4 separate regions of the Homo sapiens genome follow, and regions 2, 3 and 4 are each linked to region 1. Evidence: promoter capture Hi-C in 16 types of primary human blood cells and fetal thymus (Javierre and others, 2016). All regions are on one chromosome and are shown on one strand. The core of a region is centred on a gene start or on the middle of the fragment in contact, and the rest is flanking DNA. Distances in the headings are between cores, read along the strand shown.

Evidence for each region. Contacts are between HindIII fragments. The CHiCAGO score rates a contact against its expected background, and 5 or more counts as called.
Region 2: a fragment that was not itself captured here is called in contact with the fragment with the promoter of GUCY2C in region 1 in 1 of 17 cell types (monocytes); the score reaches 5.2 in monocytes.
Region 3: a contact is called between a fragment that was not itself captured here and the fragment with the promoter of GUCY2C in region 1, in 1 of 17 cell types (neutrophils). The highest score is 7.1, in neutrophils.
Region 4: a contact is called between a fragment that was not itself captured here and the fragment with the promoter of GUCY2C in region 1, in 6 of 17 cell types (M0 macrophages, total B cells, neutrophils and 3 more). The highest score is 6.8, in M0 macrophages.

What each region holds. Positions count from the first base shown.
Region 1 is chr12:14,694,746-14,697,903 of GRCh38, forward strand. GUCY2C (guanylate cyclase 2C) reads right to left here and starts at 1,854. Exons shown (of 27, transcript NM_004963.4): 1 at 1,487-1,854. The coding sequence starts at 1,703. The region is part of intron 4 of GUCY2C-AS1 (GUCY2C antisense RNA 1); the gene reads left to right. The HindIII fragment of the contact is 11,701 bases long and covers 1-3,158 here.
Region 2 is chr12:14,252,172-14,255,404 of GRCh38, forward strand. It overlaps the pseudogene GNAI2P1. Among named protein-coding and RNA genes, the nearest start is that of ATF7IP, 110 kb to the right of the region's middle. The HindIII fragment of the contact is 4,306 bases long and covers 1-3,233 here.
Region 3 is chr12:15,001,334-15,004,681 of GRCh38, forward strand. It overlaps LINC01489 (long intergenic non-protein coding RNA 1489), which reads left to right and starts at 500. Exons shown (of 4, transcript NR_120466.1): 1 at 500-573; 2 at 1,602-1,702. The HindIII fragment of the contact is 3,304 bases long and covers 1-2,910 here.
Region 4 is chr12:14,220,950-14,224,047 of GRCh38, forward strand. No RefSeq gene overlaps it. Among named protein-coding and RNA genes, the nearest start is that of ATF7IP, 140 kb to the right of the region's middle. RefSeq lists enhancers at 1-277, 119-418. The HindIII fragment of the contact is 2,011 bases long and covers 614-2,624 here.

The DNA of each region.
Region 1 (3,158 bases), core at 604-3,103:
GCTGCCCTACTTCCACAGAATTTTAAATAGAGAAAATTAAGACATACCATCCTTAAAACCACAAATAACCATTAAGATGCATTAAATACTCATTGACTCAATAAGTCTATTTCTGGTAATCTAATCTCAGGGAATGCAGAAAATGAAAATGTTCATTGAAGTATTATGAAAATAGTAATGAGAAATTTAAAACAAATGAAATATCCTACATCAGAGAATTATTTTATATATATCTTATCATATATATCCCCCAAATTAGGTAATTTATATCCAGTGGATATAATACATACTGGATATTATAATATCTGGCGGATATTATATATCAATTCACATGATGACTAGAAAGGCCATGACGCTCTAGGAAAGTCACTTGTGCAATAATGTGAAGTGAACCAGAAGGATCCAAAACTGTTTCTATGCCATAGTGATCACCAACCACGTTCTTAAAAACAGGAAGCTAAGAAGCACATGAAAACAGACTGGAAACATCCAGGTGGCTGGGAATCATGGCTGCTTTTTTTCCCCCTTTATTTTACACATTTCATGTAATGTTATAAAATTTATTTTTATAACTAAAAGGTACAATGAAGAACTGCAACAATGAATTTGATTGCAAATGTTTTATATTAACTATGTCTAGTAATCACAGCCACAGGAAATGTAAAGAGTGAACAGACCACCCCCTCTCTACTAAAAATACAAAAAATTAGCCAGGCATGGTGGTGGGCACCTGTAGTCCCAGCTACTCGGGGGGCTGAGGCAGGAGAATGGCGTGAACCTGGGAGGCAGAGCTTGCAGTGAGCCGAGATCGTGCCACTGCACTCCAGCCTGGGTGACAGAGTGAGACTCCATCTCAAAAAAAAAAAAAAAAAAAAGAGTGAACAGGCCAGAGACAAATGTCTTTCTCTGGATAAAAGGCCCAGAGAAAGATTTGGTGTCTATGTGAAATTGACTGTCTTAATTCATCTTCTTGATTAGTATCCCTGTGAAATCTTAGGTCTAGACCAAATCTTACCTCTGAGTACAGAAGGAAACATAATGCCTTCCTGGAACCGGGCAATAAACTGAGTTTATTTTTATTTATTTTCTTTTTGAAGAGATGGAGTCTTGCTATGTTGCCCAGGCTGGTCTTGAACTCCCGGGCTCAGTGTCCCTCCTTCCTTGGCCTCCTAAATTGCTGAGATTACAGACGTGAGCCACCACATCTGGCCTAAACCCAGTTTTAACTGGGACGTTTCACTGCCGTGAACACTTTACATTTCCTGAGTCAGGGCTAGTCCCAGAGCAAGGTGAAGTGTGAGTGAGCACAGCATAATAGGGTTCAAATTCTTCTCTCTAAGGAGCTACTGTCATGAAATAGAAAGGGGTTTAGGGACAGTCCTTAGAGAAAGTTGTGTGATCAAAGAACACAAGGTCTTTGCTTAGCAACATTTTGTCCCCAGAGGTAGTAACAGAGTGGAGGAAGATTCTATTAACATTTTCTTACCAGCATTTTGCAGACGTCCTCTCACTATTTCCAGCCCCTCATTCACCGCATCTTCCAAGTTTTTCAGGGGCTCTGCAAAGGCTGAGTTGCCCATCATCAGGACGCTGATTTCATAGCTGCCATTGTGGCAGTTCTGACTCACCTGGGAACTAAAGGACAGCCACCCGGGCTGGAAGAGCAGTGACCACAAAGCCAAGTCCAACAGCAACGTCTTCATGACCCCAATCACGTTAGAACCATACTCCTTGTGCCCACTTGCTTTGCTCTGTTGGGCTCCTAGGGAGGCAGGGAATCCAGATGGACAGCCTCTAGTGGAGTCCCTCAGCCCACTCTTCCCCACGCTTCTCTCTGGTCATGCCCAACTGGTCACATGGGCCGTGGAACACAGCCTGCTTGCCAGTAATTAGCAGCTACGTTATGGCAGGAGATAAACCAAAGTTCACTTTGTGTTTGCACCCAGAAAGGTCAGAGCTATAAACAGAGAGATTAGCTGGGCCTCACCCAATAAAAATGCAATAATTTGTGATGCATCACTGGGAAGAGGGAAAAGAGAAAGAGGGCAATACATCATATATGTAACAAACTTTGTGAAGTGGAAAATAAAGGTCAAAGGGCTTTAGGAAAACACAGCTACAATTGACTATTAGTGCTTAAGTTTTAGCTGCACATTGAAACGAAATCCTTAACTTTATATATATATATAAAGTATATATATATATATATATAAAGTGTATATATATATATATATATATATATATAAAGTGTATATATATATATATATATATATATATATAAAGTGTATATATATATATATATATATATATATATATAAAGTGTATATATATATATACTTTAAGTTCTGGGATACATGTGCAGAACGTGCAGGTTTGTTACGTAGGTATGCACATGCCATGGTGGTTTGCTGCACCCATCAACCCGCCATCTACGTTAGGCATTTCTCCTAATGCTATCCCTCCCCTAGCCCCCCACCCCCCAACAGGCCCTGGTGTATGATTTTCCCCTCCCTGTGTCCATGTGTTCTCATTGTTCAACTCCCACTTACAAGTGAGAACATGCGGTATTTGGTTTTCTGTTCTTGTGTTAGTTTGCTGAGAATGATGGTTTCCAGCTTCATCCATGTCCCTGCAAAGGACATGCACTCATCCTTTTTATGGCTGCATAGTATTCTATGGTGTATATGTGCCACATTTTCTTTATCCAGTCTATTATTGATGGGCATTTGGGTTGGTTCCAAGTCTTTACTATTGTGAACAGTGCTGCAATAAACATATGTGTGCATGTGTCTTTATAGTAGAGTGATTTATAATCCTTTGGGTATATACCCAGTGATAGGATTGCTGGGTCAAATGGTATTTCTGGTTTTAGATCCTTGAGGAATTGCCACACTGTCTTTCACAATAGTTGGACTAATTTACACTCCCACCAACAGGGTAGAAGCGTTTCTATTTCTCCACATCCTCTCCAGCATCTGTTGTTTCCTGACTTTTTTAATGATTGCCATTCTAACTGGCATGAGATGGTATCTCATTGTGATTTTGATTTGCGTTTCTCTAATGACCAGTGATGATGAGCTTTTTTTCATGTTTCTTGGCTGCGTAAATGTCTTCTTTTGAGAATTGTCTGTTCATATCCTTTGCCCACTTCTTGATGG
Region 2 (3,233 bases), core at 380-2,879, 440 kb before region 1:
ATGACTGCACCACTATACTCCAGCCTGAGCAACAGACAGAGATCCTAACTATAAAAAATAAAAATAAAATGGGAACAATTGTACCTTCTCCAAAGGGTGGCTATGAGGAAAACAGTTTATATATACAATGTGGTTTATACATACTATATATACATATATATCATAACAGTAAACTGGCACAAAGTATTGCTATGTAATTGCTCTTATAATGATTATTACAACTTTATAGAGATATTTTTATAGATGAAAAAACAAAATAGATGAGGAAACCACGGCTTCAGAGCTTTGAGTTTTTCTGACCTCAATATTCGGTCTCTCAACTATTGATTACCCTGAACCAGTTAAAAGAAGTGAAAGTCAGCCGGGCGTGGTGGCTCACGCCTGTAATCCCAGCACTTTGGGAGGCTGAGGTGGGCAGATCACCTGAGGTTAGGAGTTCGAGACTAGCCTGGCCAACATGGAGAAACTGTCTCTACTAAAAACACAAATTAGCCGGGTGTGGTGACGCATGCCTGTAATCCCAGCTACTCGGGAGGCTGAGGCAGGAGAATCTCTTGAACGCCAGAGGCGGAGGTTGTGGTGAGCTGAGATCGTGCCATTGCACTCCAGCCTGGGCAACAGGAGCGAAACTCCATCCCAAAAAAAAAAAAAAAAAAAAAAAGAAGTGAAAGTCACAGAATTTTGTAGTCAGTTAGGGAAATCCTACCAGTTTCACAACGAGTCAATCAAAACCTTGCAATAAATACACAATAAAGCTGTGCTTCAAATGTCCTCCAACACCTAGCACAGCTTTTAGAACAGCTAATTTGCTTAGGTGAAGAAATGCTCCAGGCAGGGCACAGTGGCTCATGCCTGTGATCCCACCTCACTGGGAGGCAGAGGTAGGAGTCACTTGAAGCCAGGAGTTTGAGGGCAGCCAGAGCAACACAGAGAGACCCTGTCTCTGTGAAAAAATAAAAAAATAAATAGGCCAGGCATGGTGGCTCATGCCTGTAATCCCAGCACTTTGGGAGGCCCAGGCGGGTGGATCATTTGAGGTCAGGAGTTCAAGACCAGCCTGGTCAACATGGCGAAAGCCCATCTCTACTAAACATACAAAAATTAGCCAGGCTTGGTGGTAGGCACCTGTAATCCCAGCTACTAGGGAGTCTGAGGCAGGAGAATCGCTTGAACCAGGGAGGTGGAGGTTACAGTGACCAGAGATTGCACCACTGCACTCCAGCCTGGGCAACAAAGTGAGACTCTGTCTCAAAAAAAAAAAGAAAAATAGAAAAAAATAACCAAGTGTGATGGTGCATGCCTATAGTCCCAGCTACTCTGGAGGCTGAGGTGAGAGGATCACTTGAGCCCAGAAGTCAAGGCTGCAGGGAGCCAGGATCAGGCCACTGCACTCTAGCTAGCATCAGTGACAGAGTGAGACCCTGTCTCAAAAAAAAAAAAAGCCCCAAAGACATTACTCTTGTGTTGGGCTGAAATCCAGTGAATTGGTGGCCCCTCTCTCTCTCTCTCATCTGAAGGTTTTCAGAGATGCAAATTGCCTACTTGAAATTCTGTGGCATTAGACTTCTGCTTGGATGAGTCCCTGGCCAGGAGTAGAATCTTTTTTTTTTTTTTTGAGACTGAGTCTTGCTCTGTCACCCAGGCTGGACTGCAGTGGCACGATCCCAGCTTAGTGCAACCTCTGCCTGCCGGGTTCAAGCGATTCTCCTGTATCCCCTCCCTAGTAGCTCAGATTACAGGCACCCACCACCATGCCCAGCTAATTTTTATATTTTTAGTAGAGACGGGGTTTTGCCATGTTGGCCAGGCTGGTCTCAAACTCCTGACCTCAAGCGATCCACCCACCTCAGCCTCCCAAAGTGCTGGGATTACAGGCGTGAGCCACCTCGCCCAGCTAGGATCCATTTTTTTTTTTTTTTTTTTTTTGGGACAGAGTCTCGCTCTGTCACCCAGGCTGGAGTGTGGAGTGCAGTGGCGCGATCTCGGCTCACCGCAACCTCCACCTCTTGGGTTCAAGCAATTCTCCTGCGTCAGCCTCCTAGTAGCTGGGACTACAGGTGCATGCCACCACACCCAGCTAAGTTTTTGTATTTTTAGTAGAGGTGAGGTTTCACTGTGTTAGCCAGGATGGTCTCAATCTCCTGACCTCATGATCGGCCCACCTTGGCCTCTCAAAGTGCTGGGATTACAGGCGTGAGCCACCATGCCCGTTGTGTGTGTGTGTGTGTGTGTGTGTGTGACACGAAGTTTCAATCTTGTTGCCCAGGCTGGAGTGCAATGGCATGATCTCAGCTCACTGCAACCTCTACCTCCCGGGTTCAAGCAATTCTCCTGTCTCAGCCTCCCGAGTAGCTGAGATTACAGGCGCCCGTCACCACCCCTGGCTAATTTTTGTATTTTTAGTAGAGATGAGGGTTTCTCCATGTTGGCCAGGCTGGTCTCGAACTCCTGACCTTCGGGTGATCCACCCACCTCGGCCTCCCAAAGTGCTGGAATTACAGGCATGATCCACCAGGCCTGGCCGCCAGGATACTCTTTTAAAGGAGGAATTGGTAAATCCTTTCCCTCTGGTGATAGGGACAGTTTTGATAAAGATGGAAGGGGGAAAACCATGTGCATGACTCCAGACTCAGAAACCAAAACCCAAGTTGAATTCCATCTCAGAGTAAAATCAAGTACTACAGATGAGAAAACACAGACGGTAAGAATTATAAGACTAGTGTGTCTTTTCTTAGGGGATAAAAGCTGTTTGACAGCATCTGCAACAAGTGGTTCACAAACACGTCCATCATCTACTTCCTCAACAAGAAGGAGCTGTTGGAGGAGAAGATCACACACAGCCCCTGACCATCTGCTTCCCTGAGTACACAGGGTCCAACAAGTATGATGAGGCAGCCAGCTACAACCAGAGTAAGTCTGAGGACCTGAATAAGCACAAAGACACCAAGGAGATCTACACACACTTCACATGCGCCACCGATACCAAGAACGTAGTTCGTGTTTGATGCCATCACCGACGTCATCATCAAGAACAACCTGAAGGACTGGGGCCTCTTCTGAGGGGCAGTGGGACCTAGCAGGATGGGCCACCACCAACTCTGTACCCCCCAACCCCTGAGGAAGATGGGGCAAGAAGACCATGGTCCCCACCTGTTCCCTGGACACTTTTCTCTTCTTTCCTTTGTTCTTAGCTCCCCCATCCCCTCAGCTTCAGACATAGGGGAGGGGTTGCC
Region 3 (3,348 bases), core at 9-2,508, 310 kb after region 1:
CAAATATCTTCTCTTGCAAAGTTCATCATTAAAGCTCTTTGAGGATTATTTCAGACCCCTACATGCTATGTCTGGGACACAAGAACAGTCTTAAAGAGAATGTCCTGAAGCTCATCCACCTCAGTGTGCAGGGCTGGAGCTCATGTATATGTACTTTGGCTCTCACCAGAAGTGGTGAATCTTAGGGTTCTGGGTCTTATTGTTTTAAGAGATATGATGTGAGCCAGGCTGCTTAGTATGAACCACCGACAGATGAAATGATGGCTTATGAAAGAAAGTTAATGTAAAATATTAGCCCATGTGAGCTAGCATAATCAGTTGTTTTTATTAAAATGTTATGTGTTTGTTGCATTAGGAAAAGGAAGTGGATTGGATACCCCTTTGTTCCCACATATCTTCAGTCTTTTTACACTTAGCACTACCGGCTATTTTTAGCATGCTTGTTGTCTGCCTATCCTGTTACAACATCACCTCCACAAGGACAGGGAATTTGCCTGTGTTGTTCACTGTTATACCCACTCCACTTCCTAGGAAATGCCTAGAAATAGAAGGAACTCAGTAAATACTTCCTGGGTGAGTAAATACATGAGAAAATTATTTGTGTGCATGGATAGTTGCAAAGATCACTATGGCATAAGCAGAGGCTTCCCCACTCGGGTTACAGCAGTGCGGTTCTTTGTTTGCAAACTGCAGTTACCAGCTGAAGCATCTGCTGTGATTTTTTTTTTTAATCTACTTCAGTTTACTTGAAGGGTTTCCTAAGAAGACAGTGTGCTGGTTTATGAAGCTATTGTCTCTCTACTTCAAACCCACCTTTCCTTACTCAGCTTTATGGCACTGGGGCTGGGATGATAGGAAATAGAGTTTTGGCTGCCTGTGAGGCTTCTCTGAGAGGGAGGCACTGGATGCTTGCTGGAAGGCTAGAAAGGGAGGGAGGGAAGGAGAAGTCCCTGTTCCTGGCAGCGGCATCCGCCAGCAACAACCGCCCTCTCTTGGCAGCAGCAATTGGTCTGGTTCTAGTCTCCACCTTCTTTCTACACTTTTTCTGCAAAGTTACCCATAGCAGCCAGGCAGTGCCCTCTCCTCAGAGATCTGGTCCGAGTCTGACAATGGCTCTGCCGGGCATCTTCTCTGATTAGGGCAGCTTTCAGACAGCTGATTGCTCATTAGGAACACCTGGGACGGAACCGCAATTTCTTCCCTTTATTCTACCTTCTCTATTTAGCTTAGCCAATTCCTTATAACTGATTATAATTAATTTATAATACATTCCATCTGTTATAATATGCTTTCTAGTTTCCTGACCCGGACTCTGATGGATCATGTTCTTTATCCTACAGCTATGTGTGTTTCTGCAAATTCTATATTTCAAAGCTCTTAACAATTCACAAACTTGCAGGACTTCTTTTAATTTAATTTAAAATGATAGTGGGGTTTCTTTTAATTTAAAAATGTTTTTCTGTTGGTGGGTATTTAAACACATAAAACAAATAGAGATTTACACAAAATACAAATGCTCCAGTCTTACTTATCAATTTTTAACACATTTCCATCGGATTAATGTTCTCTTACTTTCAAACTCCCTCTTTTTAAAAATGCAGAACAGAAACCCCAATCGTTCATGAATTCTCAGAGCATCCCTTTCTGTGATAATAGAGTGGAGAAAAACTTCCTGTGGGTCTGCAATCCTATCCCCGCACAGGTAAAATACTTCTTTGTTTTTTCATGTGGAATATTTTGAGCAGTTTTCAGGATGTTCCAATCTCGACAGCCCACTCGCTTGTCCCTGTGGCGTCTGAGGGGATGCTGACACATGGAGTTTGAGAACCACACTTTAAGAAGTTGTTCTTTCCTGTGGGGCAGAATTAGGGCAGCTTTCCGACAGCTGATTGTTCATTAAGAACACCTGGGGTGGGACCAGAAGGAGGACAGAAAGTGCCATCTGAGATTGCAGAAATTCTCTTTAATTTCACAATTATGCCCATAGCAGGCTTTCTGTGGCAGAGTTGTTGACCTAAGGTTCAGAAGACAATCTGACTTGGCTAATGACAGCATTTTCTCATGATCTGCAAAACATGAAGAAATGATGCAGTGGGAAGGTTGAAGCCATCGGTATAGTGAGTTGCTTGACCTGCAGAGAAGTCATAAGTTCATTTATCTTCCTCTCAGCAATGACTTAAACTCCTGTCTATTGAGTGCCTCCGAGGCGCAAGACAGGATGCTAGGCACTTGATTCTTCACACACTTGTGGAGTAGGTATTATAATAAGAGCACTGATCACCAGTCTTGAGCTCATAATTAAATGCCCCACAACTAGAATGTGGTCGAGCTAGTCCTTAGTTAAATCTAGGGGTAAAGTCTGGTTGTTTTGACTTTTTTACCCTCCTTCCACCATAAAGCATAACATATTCTCACATGGAAACCTGCAGGGCAATTCCCCTGCTTTACATTAATGAGGGACAAATACGATTTGTGTCTTTTACTGTGTCTAATCTCCCACGGTTCTCACAGCTTCTTTTAAATTTATATGACTTTTCCATTTTCATAAAAAGATAGGATGCCGTTTCTTATCTTTTTGGATCAATGTTATGGTATCAGTATTGATTCTTAAAGAAGTCCTTTAGAGGTTCAGCTCTGAAGCTATTGATCATTCAAAAGTTCCTCCTTTATTTAATTTTCATGTCACTTCAGTCTTTGAAACTTTAGGTTTCACATTTCCTCTGTATGTAGCTTTCCAGTGGAAGACAGGGCTTTCTTTACTGTATTTCTAAAATTATGTAATTTGGGGGTACTTTATTTGGCAAACATGGATAGAATATTTATATGTTTGTGAACAATGTGCAATTCTTATCACAGTGTTACCTAAAATAGCTAACATAAAGAGTCTAATTTATAAATAAGAGAAATTGAAGCTTAGGGAGTTAACTGTTCAATGTAATTAAGTAGACTAACGGGTAGTAGAGCCGTGCCTCCAATCAAAGTCTATTCAAGGCCCAAAGCCTGTCCCCTAAACACTAACATCTGTCTGCCCCTCACATCCACTGTTTTCTCACCATCACTCAAAACTTGTCTCAGAGTGATGGCTTGCAGAGCACATGCCTGGTGCCCTGGTGTCCCCTGTTTGTTCACTCCAGGGCCGGTGGTACCATCTTGATGACCTCACATATCTGATCTAACTCTTTTGTAAGTGCTTATTTCTGTCACTCCAACTAGACAGGGGCTTTTCACTGTTTCATTCCAGCACTTGGCACAGTGAGTAGCACGTTGGTGTTTAACAAATATTTGTTAAGGAAATGGATGCATGATTCTGGGCTTGCCAAACATATGCTCAACTTTGCCTTCTGTGCC
Region 4 (3,098 bases), core at 369-2,868, 470 kb before region 1:
CCCACCAACCTGTTCTCACACCACGACACCAAAGACTCCCCTCCTGAGGAAACCTCAACTGCAGTGCCCCTTCTACCCCCCAGTTCAGCAGGAAGTAGCTAGAACAATCGTCATCCAACTTCCCAACAGCACTTGGGCTTTCCTGTTGAAAGGGGGGACTGAGGGACTAAGTGGCTAAATTGGCTGGACTTCCTGGGTCAATAGGGACTTCCCTAAAGTGACTTTCCCCTAAGCCAAAATGAGTCATAGCTGCAAGCTAAGAGATTAAAACTTCAACCAATCAAAGGGGATTTTCCCCTAAGCCAAAATTAGTCATAGCTGCAAGCTAAAGGGATTGAAACTTCAACCAATCAAAGGGGACTTTCCCCTAAGCCAAAATGAGTCACAGCTACAAACTAAGGGATTGAAACTTCAACCAATCATATAGGGAGTTCAAGCTCTAGCTGCAGCCTGATGTTTTTAACCAATCAGGTCTGCCAACCCACAAGTGGATAGAAAATTAGCCAATCCTATAGGACAGAAAAAGAAAAGGGGAGGAGTCATAAGGGGATATAAGCATAAGACACCCAAGCCAAAAAACACAATCCTTCTGGGTCCCCTTCCACCACATGGAAGCTTTACTTTTGCGTTCCCTTTACTTTCCCTTTCGCTTTACTAAATCTTGCTGCCATAAAAAAAAAAAAAGAATCCCAGCCTGGTACAGTGACTCACACCAAGGAAGGCAGATCGATTGAGACAAGGAGTTCAAGACCAGTGTGGGCAACATGGCAAAACCCCATCTCTACAAAAAATACAAAAAAAAAAAAAATAGCTGGGAGTGGTGGTAGGTGCCTGTAGTCCTAGCTACTCAGGAGGCTGAGGTGGGAGGATCACTTGAGCCCAGGAGGTTGCAGTGAGCCGGGTTCATTCCACTGCATTCCAGCCTGGGCAACACAGCCATATCTTGGCTCAAAAAAAAAAAAAAAAAAAAAAACAAAAAAAAACAGAAGGCTATAATCTCAAGCACTTTGGGAGGCCAAGGCAGGCAATCACAAGGTCAGGAGATCAAGACCATCCTGGCTAACATGGTGAAACCCCGTCTCTGCTAAAAATACAAAAAGTTAGCTGGGCGTGGTGGCGGGCGTCTGTAGTCCCAGCTACTCGGAAGGCTGAGGCAGGAGAATGGCATGAACCCGGGAGGCGGAGCTTTCAGCCAGCCGAGATTGCACTACTGCACTCCTGCCTGGGTGACAGAGCAAGACTCCGTCAAAAAAAATAAAAGAAAAGAAAAAAGAAAAAAGGGCAGGGCGTGGTGGTTCACGCCTGTAATCCCAGCACTTTGGAAGGCCGAGGTGGGCAGATCACTTGAGGTCAGGAGTTCAAGACCAGCCTGGCCAACATGGTGAAACCCCATCTCTACTAAAAATACAAAAAAATTAGCTGGGCACAGTGGCAGGCCCCTGTAATCCCAGCTACTCAGGAGGCTGAGGCAGCAGAATCGCTTGAACCCAGGAGGCCAAGGTTGAAGTGAGCCAAGATTGCGCCGCTGCACTTCAGCCTGGGCAACAGAGCGAGACTCTGTCTCAAGAAAGAAAAGAAAAAAAAATCCCAGATGAATTTTCTTTTTTTTTTTTTTTTTTTTTGAGACAGTATCCCTGCCTCCCAGGCTGGAGTGCAGTGGCGCAATCTCAGCTCACTGCAAGCTCCGCCTTCCAGGTTCATGCCATTCTCCTGCCTCAGCCTCCCGAGTAGCTGGGATTACAGGTGCCCGCCACCATGTCCAGCTAATTTTTTGTATTTTTAGTAGAGATGGGGTTTAAACGTGTTAGCTAGTGTGGTCTCGATCTCCTGACCTCGTGATCCACTCGCCTTGGCCTCCCAAAGTGCTGGGATTACAGGCGTGAGCCACCACGCCTGACCCTAGCTTAATTTTCTTAAAAGGAAGCTGAATTGGCAGAGTTGTCCCACAGTGGACTAAAACAGCCAGGCCTTTATACCTCCACCTTGATCACTGGATGTAGGCTGTCCTGGTAAGGGTGCCCCACCTTAGTCACACAGGAAGCTGATGCAGTCCCTGAAGACACTGCTAGCTGAAGGCTTTCCCCTCGTAGCACTCCCAGTAGTTGGGAAAACAATTCCTTCACTGAAGTAGGGTCTGGACACCATACTTGGTATGTCTTCACAAAATATTTTTGTTTTTTTGTTTTTTTGAGACAGAGTCGCTCTGTCGCCCAAGCTGGAGTGCAGTGGCGTGATCTCGGCTCACTGCAAGCTCCGCCTCCCAGGTTCACGCCATTCTCCTGCCTCAGCCTCCCTACTAGCTGGGACTATAGGTGCCCGCCACCACGTCTGGCTAATTTTTTTTTATTTTTAGTAGAGACGGGGTTTCACCGTGTTAGCCAGGATAGTCTCAATCTCCTGACCTCATGATACACTCGCCTCGGCCTCCCAAAGTGCTGGGATTACAGGCGTGAGCCACCACGCCCAGCCCTTCCTCTATCTTAATAACACAGTGGTTAAACGCAACAGTACTGAATTGTCTAGTTAGTTTAATGTTATGTATTTCATACACTATTAACACTAGTATGGGAAGCATTTATAAAAATCATGTACCATTAATTAATTTTCTTTCACTTAAAAGTTAAAGCTTTGAGGATTCTGTTTGAAAATATATGTAAAATGATAAAGACCAAATGTGTGTTAATTCAAATATTTAATTAAAGAATAAAATAAGAATAATGAGCTATTTGAAATTGTTGTGAAATTGGTGTAGTGACTTTTGATTCAAACATTTAAATCTGCTGAGGTTAGTTTTGGTACAACTATTCTCAGGATTACATTTATAGACCCTCATCTAGTTAAATTTAGTTTTCTGACTTTAACAGTGATTCAGGCCAGAGACAGTGGCTCACTTCTATAATCCCAGCACTTTGGGAGGCTGAGGCAGGAGAATCACTTGAGACCAGGAGTTTGAGACAAGTCTGGGCAACATAGACCTCATATCTACAAAAAGTTGGGTTTTGTTTTGTTTTTTGAGACAGGGTTTCCACTCTGCCTGCCCAGGCTGGAGTGCAGTGGTACAGTCTCAACTCACTGCAACCTCCGCCTCCTGGGCTCAA